Regions from separate parts of the Homo sapiens genome. Here region 1 is linked to region 2. Evidence: promoter capture Hi-C in human tissues and cell types (Jung and others, 2019). All regions are on one chromosome and are shown on one strand. Each heading gives the region's core, a stretch centred on a gene start or on the middle of the fragment in contact. The rest is flanking DNA. Distances are from core to core; before and after follow the strand shown. Region 1 has its middle 57 kb from the start of MYO3A. Region 2 holds the start of MYO3A (myosin IIIA).

Region 1 (6,507 bases), core at 3,049-5,548, 58 kb after region 2:
TTGCCTTTAGGGAGGCCATTGTAGTTTCAAAACACACGATGAAACAAACAAATAATGATTGTAGAAAGGACAGATACATCCTGCTATAGTCAATAGAATATATACAGCCATGAGAATGGATAAACCATTACTACATGCATGAGCATGGATGAATTGCCCAGGCATAATATTAAGCAAAAGGTGAGACACTAAAGAGTATATGCTTTTATGATTCCTTTTTATAAAGTTTAAAATAGGCAAAACAAATGCATAGTCACAGAATTCAAAAGAGTGCTTCCCTTTGGGATGGGGAAGTTCCTGGGAAAGCTCTGATCCCACCTACTAAAATATACCCAAACATGTTTTCAGATAAGACCTTCATGGGGTGAGATCTATCCCTCTAAACCCTGAGGGCTTCCAAGTATCTCAGAATCAGTCTCGTTGGCATTCCTATTTTCATTCTTGTCTTTCACAACAAAACCAACCGTCATCCTGAGCATACCGACACGGGCAGCAGCTCCTTCCTCTGGTTCACCCCAAATCCTAAACGCCACACGGATTTCCTGTTCTCAGCTCCATGTCTTCAGATGTGGGCAGGCTGCTGGGCTCTCCTGCCTTCTGGTTCTCACTGAACTTTGCTCTTCCTCTTCCAATTCCTCAGTGCACTCATTTCCATTTGGCTGTTGGACTCACCCTTCCTCCAGCTGATGCTGCTCTCTGGCCTGGTCAAGACTTAACTGCCAATACCTCTCCCTCTCCCAGAACTGCACCCCCCTTTCTTCAGGGATCTGCCTCTCATTCCTAGTATTGTCTGGCTTATCCTTTGTTAAAAATAACAAGGGTTTTCCAGGAGGCAGAGGTTGCAGTGAGCCGAGATCATGCCACTGTACTCCAGCCTGGGTGACGGAGACAGACCGTCTCTCCAAAACAATAAATAAATAAATAAATACTAGGGTTTTCATGCAATTTCTGCTAATTGTCAGAGTTAGGACAAAGGAATGAGATATCCAGAGGAGGTGTGGAGGAGAGGAAAGGCAGAGGGAGAAAGAATGCAGAGAGGACTGAAAGTGAGGTCCGAGAAGTCTGTCATTAGAATAAAGAGGAATTCAGTTTTCTAGTTCCTCAGTGAAATGAAGGATTATAAACTATCAAAACTGGATGAATTGGCCGGGAATGGTGGCTCATGCCTATTATCCCAGCACTTTGGGAGGCCAAGACAGGCAGATCACCTGAGGTCAGGAGTTTGAGGCCAGCCTGGCCAACATGGTGAAACCTGTCTCTACTAAAAATACAAAAAATTAGCTGGGTGTGGAGAAGCGTCCTCTTGGGAGCCTGAGGCAGGAGAATCGCTTGAAACCGGGAGGCAAAAGTTGCAGTGAGCTGTGATCTTGCCACTGCACTCCAGCCTGGGCAACAGAGACTCCATCTCAAAAACAAACAAACAAGCAAAACAACGACAACAACAACAAAAAACAGAGTGAATTACTACATGACATAGATTCCTTTAACCTTACTTAATAATATATATGTGATTCAAAATGATACAAGTTAGCATAAAAAAGCTCAAAATTTAGCTGTAAAAACTTAACTAAATTTGAAATGCATGAAATTACATGTTACCGTGGGACCCAAGGGATTACACGTTAACTATTGCATTTTGATCAGTTTTGACCACCATCCCTGGTTCAAACAAGGTATCATAATAAGGCAGTTGTGGAATTTAATCCTTTGAGCAGAGCTGCTTGTTCCTCTAAAGAGAGAGTGATAAAAAAGATTCTTCCCCTCTCAGAATGATTTTGAGACCCACGGCAGAAACCAAAGGGAGAATGTGTTCCCCACTTCCTCAATCTAATCAGTGCATGCTCCAAGAAATGAATGAAAACATAAAAGATTTATAGCAAAGAGCATCAAGCATCAAGCCAAGACTCCACAAAAATTAAGTGTAAAGAATCAAGGATTTCATGGAATTTTATATTTCCCTTTGTGTTCACTCTGGAGATAAGAGTGGTTTAGATTGTTATTAGAATTGTTGACATTTCAGTGATCATTTTCTAGGAAAATAACTTTTTCTGAAAGGCACATTCTATAGCACAGCAGTCCTCAACCTTTTTGGCACCAGGGACTGGGTTCATGGAAGACAATTTTTCCAGACAAGGGTGGGTGGTGGGGGGATGGTTTGGGGATGATCGAAGTGCATTACATTTATTGTACACTTTATTTCTATTATTATTACATTGTAGCATATAATACAATAATTATATAATTCACCGTAATGTAGAATCAGTGGGAACCCTGAACTTGTTTTCCTGCAACTAGACTATCCCATCTGGAGGTGATAGGGTCAGTGACAGATCATCAGGCATTAGATTCCCTTAAAGATTGTACAAACTAAATCCCTTGCACACATGGTTCTCAACAGGGTTCACGCTCCTATGAGACTCTAATGCTGCTGCTGATCTGACAGGAGGTAGGGCTCAGGTGGTACTGTGAGTGATGGGAAGCATCTCTAAATATAGAGGAAGTTTTGCTCACTTGCCCACCCTAACCTCCTGCTGTGCAGCCTGGTTCCTAATATGCCACAGATCAGGACGGATCTGTGCCCTGGGGGTTGGGGAGCCCTGCCACAGCAGACACTAAAAATAGAAACTTTTCTTCATATATATGTATATATCTCTATTATTGGCTCTGGCTCATATTCTTATGTATTTATTTATTTTAGACACAGGGTCTCACTGTTGTCCGGGCTGGAGTGCAGTGGTGTGATCATGGCTCACTGCAATCTTGAGCTCCTGGGCTCAAGGGACTCTTATGCTTCAGCCTCCCGAGCAGCCAAGACTATAGGCATGAGCCTCCAAGCCTGGTCTACATATTCTAACTGGTTTAAAAAAAAATGTTGCACTTAACTAGTTACTTTGAAATGACAGTTTACAATAATGGAATTTAATTTAGCATACAGTTATTTTAGCAGATACTGAGATAATAATTCATGACCTGGGAGATGTCCCTAAAACTAAACATTCCTTCAGAGCAGTTAACTATTCTATTGAAAAGACTAATTTTTAAAAAAGAACCTTGTGGCTAAGCAACACAAAGATTTAAACTCTATTGACTGTCTTAGTGTAAATTTTCACTTGCTCTTCATGTGGAATCATGAGAGTTTGTCAGATGGAGCTGAGACAGAAATAAAGGCTCATGTGGGAGGCTGAGGCTGCCAGTCAAAGGGCTCACTATTGACTCACTCCCACTGGGAGACTGGGATGCCAGGACCTTCCACAATTTGATTGTTCACTGGGTTCTAACACCAAACCCAAGTCCACTCTGTCCACCTTGGGGATCTCATTATTAGAACCATCTATCAGCTGCCTCACTTTGCCAACATTAACTAGAAATGTGATTTCAATTCTGTATATCAGAAATGCAATTAAAATACATTGATTTTATTAATGAGTTTCATATTTCACAAAAGATTTGATGGAAAACAGATTTTTTTGAGACATTTCAAGGACTTTTCATAAGATATAAGTCTTCCCCCAAATCTTTGAGATGTGTTTTTTATCCCCATTTTACAGTTGAGGAATTTAAAACTTGGGATATGATGATAGTTTGTATCTAACTCCAGATTTATTTATTTATTTATTTATTTATTTATTTATTTATTTATTTATTTATTTATTTTTGAGACGGAGTCTCGCTCTGTCGCCCAGGCTGGAGTGCAGTGGCGCGATCTCGGCTCACTGCAAGCTCCGCCTCCTGGGTTCACGCCATTCTCCTGCCTCAGCCTCTCGAGTAGCTGGGGCTACAGGCACCCGTCACCACGCCCAGCTAATTTTCTGTATTTTTATTAGAGACAGGGTTTCATCGTGTTAGCCAGGATCGTCTCGATTTCCTGACCTCGTGATCCGCCCACCTCGGCCTCCCAAAGTGCTGGCATTACAGGCGTGAGCCACCGCACCCGGCCAACTCCAGATTTATTTGACTCCAAAGTTTGTGTTCTTTCATTTATCCTTACTTTTCCTCAAAAGAAAGGAGGCTAAAGCTATTGACTAAAAGAATGTTTAGAGATTAACAAATGCATTTCAACCCTGTATCCAATTCCTGTTACTATTACCAAAGATCTGAACAACCACAGAAACAGCTTATAACCTACCAAAACTCCAGAAGCAGTAAGTAGCATTAACCTCAAACAGGGAATCCGAACAACAAAATTCCTCTATAAAATATTTAATGACATTTTAACTTAGCATATGAGTAGTAATTCTCCTGAGAATAAAGCTGTTGTCTTGGATGAATATCATACCAGATTTAACTTATTATATGAGTAGTAATTCTCCTGAGAATAAAGCTGTTGTCTTGGATGAATATCATACAGGAGGTTGCTTATGAAACTGACACCTGGAATCCACTCCCACACTTACCCATGTTGTTCCCTTTTATGTTGATGTTACAGCCAGTTAAAAACAATTCTATCTGGACAGGTAGGTATGGTTAATAGCTAAGGTATTGTTAGCCATTAACATTTTGTTTCAAATTAGATAACCAGATTAACAAACTGGCCACTTAATAAGCCCCTCCTAGGAAATAGAAGCTAGGACATGTTAATTTTGAGGGAAGAGGTCAGAAAATTAGCAGAACATTGAATAAGTTTGGGTGGAATTCTGCATTGAAAAATAATTCCTGATGTGAAGAAAGACTCCATAAACCTCCATTAAGATGCTCTTCAATTCTAACATTTTATAATAAAATAATGTTACAGACAAGTGAACATTTTTATAACCTCATTTTTCTTAGGGTCAATTTTGCATAAAAAGAAAGTAAATCAATACCAGTTTCTGAAATTTCGAATATAGGAAATCATGCAAACAAAAACTCCCGCCATAATCCCTTGACAATATCTCTTCTCAGTGTACCCAAGAAGGCCAAAGGGTACCGTGACTGTCGAGCACACCAAGCTCCACGCGCCCTCTAGTGCATCCCTCTGGAAATGCAGCTACTAGTCCTAAGCTTAGGTATTTTCTCTGTTAAGAAAACAATTTCCAGAGCAGCTGTACTTAAAATCTGTTTATCCTGCATAGCCAACTCACCCTGAGGTGTTTCTCCAGGGTTCACATAAATTCGTTAAGTTAACTTAATCATTTCCCATCTATTCTCAAAGTTGACTTACAAGAACTCATAAAATATGACAAAATTGAAAACATTAGGCTGCATTGGATGAGAAAAGATAACAAGGGTGAGGCAAAGTGATCAAGAAATTAAATCAAAATACATGTAAAATAACAACTGACCATCCTCCCATCGATGATATATTTAGCTGTGTATTAATCAGGATGCACCAGGTTCTACTATGGTAAAGACAGCTCCCAAATCTCAGGAGTTTTTGACAACAGTGCTTTAATTTCTCTTTCGTTACAGATCTCAGGCTTATTTTTGGTTTCTAAGCGAATGGAGCAGCCATTGTCACTCACACTGCCTGCCACCATGGCAGAGGGGAAGAGCTTTGAAAAATCTTGCATTAGCAATTAAATGCTCTGATCACATCATTTCTACTCACTCTCATTGGCCAGAACTTGCCTCATGTCTCTACCCACAAGAGAGGGGAAAAGTCAGGTCTTCCATGTGTAAGGAGAGGAGGCAGAAATTTGTGGACAGCTGAAAGCCCACTACAGCGTTCCCAGGCAGGGTCAAAAAGGAAACCAGAACAGATCTGACTCAGAGTGTTCATGAAATTAAAAGCAAATACAACAGCTCAGTAAAATTCCAAGTCTTTTTGATTCTAGGGTCAGACAAGAATTTCTCCAGGATTCCTCATAGGACAAGGTATAACATAAATCATGTCATCATAATGCATTTGTGGCCTTTTCTTATAAGGCTCTTGTATAGGTTTATGACATTACAATAATCTACAGTTTGTCTAAACAATACTCTCTGGAAGAGTCGAATTATAGGTATCTTCCTCTTTGCTAAACTTCTGCATCAGAGACATATGTAAGCATTCCACCTTGCACACTGTGTTTAGTTATTTGAAGGGCAGTGAACACTAGGTTGTGTTCTCGAGGAAGCTTCTGGACAAGAGCTAGTTCTTTGCTTATAGGTGAGAACCAACTCACCTTCCTTCTCCCTTCCCTTCCCATCCCTTCCCTTCCCTTCCCTTCCCTATCCTTCCCCTCCCTTCCCCCTTCCCTTCCCTTCCCTTCCCTTCCCTTCCCTTCCCTTCCCTTCCCTTCCCTTCCCTTCCCTTCCCTTCCCTTCCCTTCCCTTCCCTTCCCTTCCCTTCCCTTCCCTTCCCTTCCCTTCCCTTCCCTTCCCTTCCCTTCCCTTCCCTTCCCTTCCCTTCCCTTCCCTTCCCTTCCCTTCCCTTCCTTTCCTTTCCTTTCCTTTCCTTTCCCTCCTCTCTTCTTCTCTTCTCTTTTTCTTTTTCTTGACAGGGTCTTGGTCTGTCTGCCAGGCTGAAGTGTGCCATCATAGCTCACTGCCAGCAACGTCAAACTCCTAGGCTCAAGTGAACCTCTCACCTCAGCCTCCCAAGTAGTT
Region 2 (6,240 bases), core at 87-2,586:
TCATATGCTGGCATTAAACAACTCTCAAGCTACCAGATCCGTCTGAATTATAAAAATGCTTAAGAAGGTTTAAGTGCACCTGTACAATTAGTTAATTCACCAAGAAAACTAGAAACAACCAGAAATGAAGATTCTTTTGAGTTTTCAAAAACGCTTAGTGTGTAGGGTTCAGTGGCATTACAACAGTCATTTCAAGGCTTATGGCCAATTTCCATTCTAACAATAATAAAATTTTTTTTCTGGAAGGGGGATAGTAGCAAGGTGCGAGTTAGCAACTACTTGGAGAACAGAACAGAGCTGTTGGTGAGCAGACTTGAAAGGACATCCTTTCCTGGTAGGTTTCTCTATTTCTCAATAATGATCATACTTTTCTTGTCTGCTCTTTCTCCTTAAAATTAAAACTCCTTTACGGATGCATTTGGGGTTGCAGGGAGCCCAGCTCCACCGACCTGCTTGTTCTGAGAAATCACCCGGAACGCAGTTCCCTCAGGGACGGGCCGACCCAGCGCCACCTGTGGGCGGCGCCGCAAAGCCCGCGCGCGCCACAGGTCTCCGAGGCGACACCCGCCAGACTCGGCGCCTCCTCCCTCCAGTCTCCCTGCAGGGCCCCCTCAGTTCTCGCCCCTCGTTACTCTTCGAGGTCCTCCCCTTACGTTTCCTTCCCAAGTTCACCCCTAAAGATCTTCCTTCACCCCTTACGCCACCCTTCCCGTTCCCTCCTCCTGTTTCCACTTCACGTTCACCCCTCCCGTTCCCTCCTCAAGTTCATTCCTCACGTTCCCTCCTCGAGATCCCCCCTCACTATCCCCTCGCGTTCCCTCCTCGGGTTCACCCACAAGATCTTCCCTCAAGTCCACCCCTCAGGTTCACCCTTCCCGTTCCCTCCTCCTGGCTCCCCCTCGAGTTCACCCCCGCCCCCGTTTCCCCCTCAAGTTCATCCCTCTCCTCCCCTCGAGCTCTCCCATCCAGCTCGTTCAAGCCTCACATTCCCCCTCTTGGTTTCCCGCTCTACTTCTCCCCTCGAGTCCCCTCTCTCACCCCAGGCCCCGACAAACACACAGGTCCTCCGGATCTGACCTGGGCGGGCGGGCGGTCGCGGCAGCCTCGCGCTCAGAGAGCCCCGGGCCCGCCCTGCAAGCCCCGGGGTCCAAGGAAGCGGGGCCGTTTCCAGCGCCGCGCGGGCGCCGCTACCCACCGCCGCCCCAAGCCAGTCCCCTGCGCTGTCCCGACACGTACCTGGGCGGGAAGCCGGGCGCCTCCTTATTTCTTTACGGGGGCGCTGGCTACGGGCGCTCCCTCGAGGGGCGGGCAGGGGCAGCCGAGCAGGGGAAGAACTGGGCCGCCTGTAGAGGGCGGGCCGAAGGTCGGCGGGAGGATCTGACCTGGGTCAACCGAGCCGAAGGGGCCCCTTATCCCGGCTCGCGGGGAATATTCTTCCTCTCGCCGCTCTCTCCACTGCCCGCAGGTGGAGGCCGCGCCATCCGCGCCATCCACATCCTCGCAGGGCCCTTGGCTGGCTGCCGAGGGGCTTCCCGGGACTCCGGCCGCGCTTCCTTGGCCCGGAGCCCGGCGAGAAGGGAGTGGGGCCCCTGGATCCTGGAGCCCTCATGGACTGGCCCAGTGCCTGGAGCAAATTCTGCTCCCGGCCCCGCGTAGTATCTTCCTCCCAGGAAATTCCCCACACTACGAGGGTCTCGGACCCGGAAAATGTAATGGGTTTCAGGTCCAAGAGGGATAGTGAGTGGCTAATGAGATCGCTCCCAGGGTCCAGTTCCCTTTTGCAGACTGCTAAGGAGTTTGGGGCTGGGGCTGAAGTTAAAGGCAAGAACTTCTACCCTCGGGAGGCAGCCCGTTAGTCACCAACCCTCTACTTGGTCCTTTGCAATCCTTTCCAGACCTTCTGTGGTCTCCTGTCACACAGGGCTCACCTGGGGGGACCCTGATGGCCAGATTCTCTTGAACAGTCTCTAGGGACATATTGGGTATTGCTATACCTTCATCCATTGAACAGGTGAGAACTACAACCAAAACATCCTTTGATTCTGTTAATTATCTCAATGGGTCTGTCGTTCATGTTATCTAAATGAGAATTATAGAAGAGACCAAAGAGAGGTCATCTAATCCTAATCAATGCATATCTTAAGGAAAAAATGTGATGTTAAAAATCTGTTTCAAAAGGTCATTCAGTATATTCAAGACCCTTCCTCTTAAAGTAGCTTTAAAATTTAGAAATTGGGCCGGGCGCGGTGGCTCACGCCTGTAATCCCAGCACTTTGGGAGGCCGAGGCGGCCGGATCACAAGGTCAGGAGATCGAGACCATCCTGGCTAACACAGTGAAACCCCGTCTCTACTAAAAAATACAAAAAAATTAGCCGGGCATGGTGGCAGGCCCCTGTAGTCCCAGCTACTTGGGAGGCTGAGGCAGGTGAATGGCGTGAACCCAGAAGGCAGAGTTTGCAGTGACGGAGCCGAGATCACGTCACTGCACTCCAGCCTGGGCGATAGAGCGAGACTCCGTCTCGAAAAAAAAAAAAAAAAAAATTAGAAATTGAATAGTGGACTTGTAATAGGGATTATATTGAATCAAAAGCCTAACATATATGAACAGCTTCAAATCAAGAAGTTATCTCATCAAAAACAGATCACAGCAAATATATTATTCAACATAATTATGGCCATTTGGACATACCTGGGAGATTTTAAGAATTAGAGCAACTGAGTGCTCACATGCAAAATAAAGTCACAATCTCAATAGAGACAAACAACACCCAATTAAAATACAATAGAAAAATAGATCCCATTCACAATAGAAGCATGAAAGAACATGAAATAACTAAGAATGATAAAAAATGAGAAATATAGGAGAAAAGTGGGAAAAAATTTAAAAATGCAGGATTGTTGACAGACTATTTATAATTGGAAAGACACTGGAATCCTAAGTTAGAAGACAAGATGTTAAACACATAATTACTACCTCCCAAATTAAGAGACAAATATATTCTAGAATTCATATGAAAACTACAGAAGCTAGAAGAGCTAAGTCCAGTGGTTCTCAGAGTGTGGTCTAGGGGAAATTTGTTGGGGGTCAGGGGGCGGTCTCTGAAACCATTTCGGGAGGTTCACAGGACCAAAATTACTTTAATAATAAGACTTTTTTCCACTCCTTTTTCTCTCCCATTTTTTAAATGAATTTATGATGAAGTTTTCCAGTGGCTCCATAATATGTGATATCACAACAGATTGAATGCAGAAACAGGTAACGTCTTCTGTTATGCCAGACATTAAAGAAATGTGCAAGAATATAAAATAATGCCATTCTTACCATTAAACTTTTTTGGTTTTGGAAAATACAGGTATTTTTCACTTAAAAATATGCTATTCATGTTAACATGTAATGAGCTTAGTAGTGAAATATATTTTTAAAATTTCTCAGTTTTAATTGCTATAACATAAAAGTTCTTTGGAGTCCTCAAAACTTTTTAAGAGTGTAAATAAAGGAAGGTTCTAAGACAAAAAAAATTGAGAACTTTTTTTTTTTTTTTTCTTTGAGACGGAGTCAGTCTCACTCTGTTGCCAGTCTGGAGTGCAGTAACACGATCTCGGCTCACTGCAACCTCCGCCTCCCAGGTTCAAGTGATTCTCCTGTCTCAGCCTCCCGAGTAGCTGAGACTACAGGCACCGCCACCATGCCCAGCTAATTTTTGTATTTTTAGTAGAGACAGGGTTTCACCATGTTGGGCAGGATGGTCTCGATCTCCTGACCTTGTGATCCACCCACCTCAGCCTCCCAAAGTGCTGGGATTACTGGTGTGAGCCACTGCCTCCAGCCCTGAGAACCTTTTGATAAGGCAATGAAAAAAGAAACATGTAATTAAGCTATAATAATGAAAAGAATGGCATTAACACGGAATAGAATAGTGTGTCCAATCCAACCAGCCTAAGACCATCAAGGACAAAACCTGCAGTCCCACAAAGTCAGGTTCATTGACTCAATGTTACAGTAGAGATACTGCAAACTAGAGGAACCATGAAGTGGAGTTTTGATAGGCTCAAAGCAAAGCAGAGCTGGGAGTCAACATGAGGTTTGGGCTGTGACCAAGGGTTCTGTTTCCTTGGATAAATGTGGAATGCTGTCTTGGGAAACTCCTTATCTGAAGCTCTGTACTTGAGTTGTAAATCGGGGCCATGTCTCTGTTGTCAAAGTGAGTTAGATCCTACAAGCAATTATGGGAGGTTTCATTTTTACTGACATAATTTCAAAAATCAAATTTTCTGATAGTCTATGAGCATAGGAAGCAAGATTTTCCAATGAGTTAGAAAGAAGTAGTCACTCAAAAAAGGGGACTGTTGTTGACATTTCACAGCACAGCCTGCCCTTGGAAGAAGCATGGTGTCCTGTTCATCTTACACCTGGCAATATCAACTTTTTTTTTTTTTTTAAGTTTTTGTTTTTCCTTATGTTGCTCAGGCTGGTCTCAAACTCCTGGGTGCAAGAGATCCTCTCATCTCAACCTTCTGAGTATCTGGGACTACGGGTGCGTGCCACAGTCCAGCCTCATTCCAGTTTTAACCGACTCATCTACTTCTTGGCAAAAAGACTCAGAGAAAGCAGAACTGGGCCGAGCAAGGTGGCTCATGCCTGTAATCCCAGCTACTCAGGAGGCTGGGGAGGTGGAGCAATCTCAGTGAGCGAAGATCGCGCTTCTGCACTGGATGACAAAGCGAGACTCCATCTCAAAAAAAAAAAAAAAAAAGAGAGAGAGAGAGAAAAAAAAATGAGTGCACTTGCCAGGAGCAAACTTCCACCTTGTAGACTAATGGCGTCTCATCAGTTAGCCCAGCACAAGTGACCCAGTGATCTGGGAGATCAATTAAGGGAAGAAAGATTGCTCATTCCTGCTTTCTGAGCTTCATAAACCCTACCTTGTGATATTTGTACATGAACTGCAGCCCAATCAAATTAGTTCTCAAATTTAGCCTTATCTCTCTATTCTGCTGATATTGCCTTATTTAGGCCTTCGCCATCCTAGAGTATTCCAGATGTTTCCTAATTTTTCTACTGCCTTGCCCTCTCCACTTTATAATAAGTCAAATCAAATATATTACTCAAGCCCCTTGTAGGAAGACTCCATGCATTTATGATTATGCCTGGGTGGTGACCCTCTCAGGCAAGAAAACAGAGTAAATCGCCTTTAGGTCTAAAAGTTCTCTCTTTTAAAAGTGCAAACTTTCTTTTAGTGCATTATTTCATTTTATATGCATAATGTCCCTCTTTAATGGAAATACCTGTAAGGTAGGTGTCTCTATTTACTAATAAGGAAACTGAAGGGAGGAATCAATGATTTCTCAAAGGCCACCATCTTAGTAATCACCTCTTTATCACACTAAATTCCAAAAGTTACCACCTCTGTAAATGCTCAAATTAGAGTTTGATTCTCACAGAGCTATCAAGGATGAAAACATGATGCTTCAAATGATCTAAACCCCACTGAACTAGCTTCCCAGTGATGGGCCAAGAATGGGCTTCGGCCTTCCTGTGTCCTAAGGACTTTCTTAGGACTTTCTCTCTTTTCTGTATCCACATTGAATTCCCACTCCCTTTTATACTTACTGAACCATTATAATCTTAGTTGTGATATGCTTGACTGTTCTTTTCCTAGGAAAATGCATTTGCCGGAGTTAGTATGATGGATATAGTAGACCACTTTTAAGGAATCCATCCCTCCATTTCTTATTCATTACTCAATTAATATTTACTGGGTACTTCTAGGTGCTGCAACTGTTCTAGGCATTGAATTTGAAACCCGTCTTTGCCACATATAACTATAAAATGTTTGGAAAATTGCCTTCTATATGTGCTGATACTCCAAGATGGAAGATTACCAATATAAGTGATATTCAGTTAAAACCTACACATTCTTTCACTACTAACCTTATCTAAATCATCTGATCATTTGCATTATTAACTTTTTAGAACACGTGGCTCAGGTGTTTTCTTGATTATTATTTTGGGCACTTTTAGCTGGTTGTGCCTTTATTGTCAGTTTTGCGGCTATCAGGACCTCAAAACATTTACATATACATACTACTCATTCAAATACATCAAAATGATCATCTTACATCTATTCAGGCAGGAGTCCAAGATTTGACTTACATAGTTGTTAGTAAAATATTCCACATTTTAAGATCTTATTGGTGGCCTCTACTTGATGTTTCTCTATTAATTTTGAACTTTTGTC

What was found. The method cuts DNA at HindIII sites, captures the fragments that hold promoters and counts their contacts. A contact is called where the count stands out against the background at its distance.
Region 1: a contact is called between a fragment that was not itself captured here and the fragment with the promoter of MYO3A in region 2, in 1 of the 25 tissues and cell types used here (spleen).

The regions. Positions count from the first base shown.
Region 1 is chr10:25,874,192-25,880,698 of GRCh38, reverse strand. No RefSeq gene overlaps it. Among named protein-coding and RNA genes, the nearest start is that of MYO3A, 57 kb to the left of the region's middle. RefSeq lists a silencer at 4,855-5,034. The HindIII fragment of the contact is 5,454 bases long and covers 1,572-6,507 here.
Region 2 is chr10:25,929,325-25,935,564 of GRCh38, reverse strand. It overlaps MYO3A (myosin IIIA), which reads right to left and starts at 1,336. Exons shown (of 35, transcript NM_017433.5): 1 at 1,237-1,336. LOC101929073 (a long non-coding RNA gene) reads left to right here and starts at 1,855. Exons shown (of 4, transcript NR_120650.1): 1 at 1,855-2,011; 2 at 3,204-3,257. The HindIII fragment of the contact is 12,658 bases long and covers 1-6,240 here.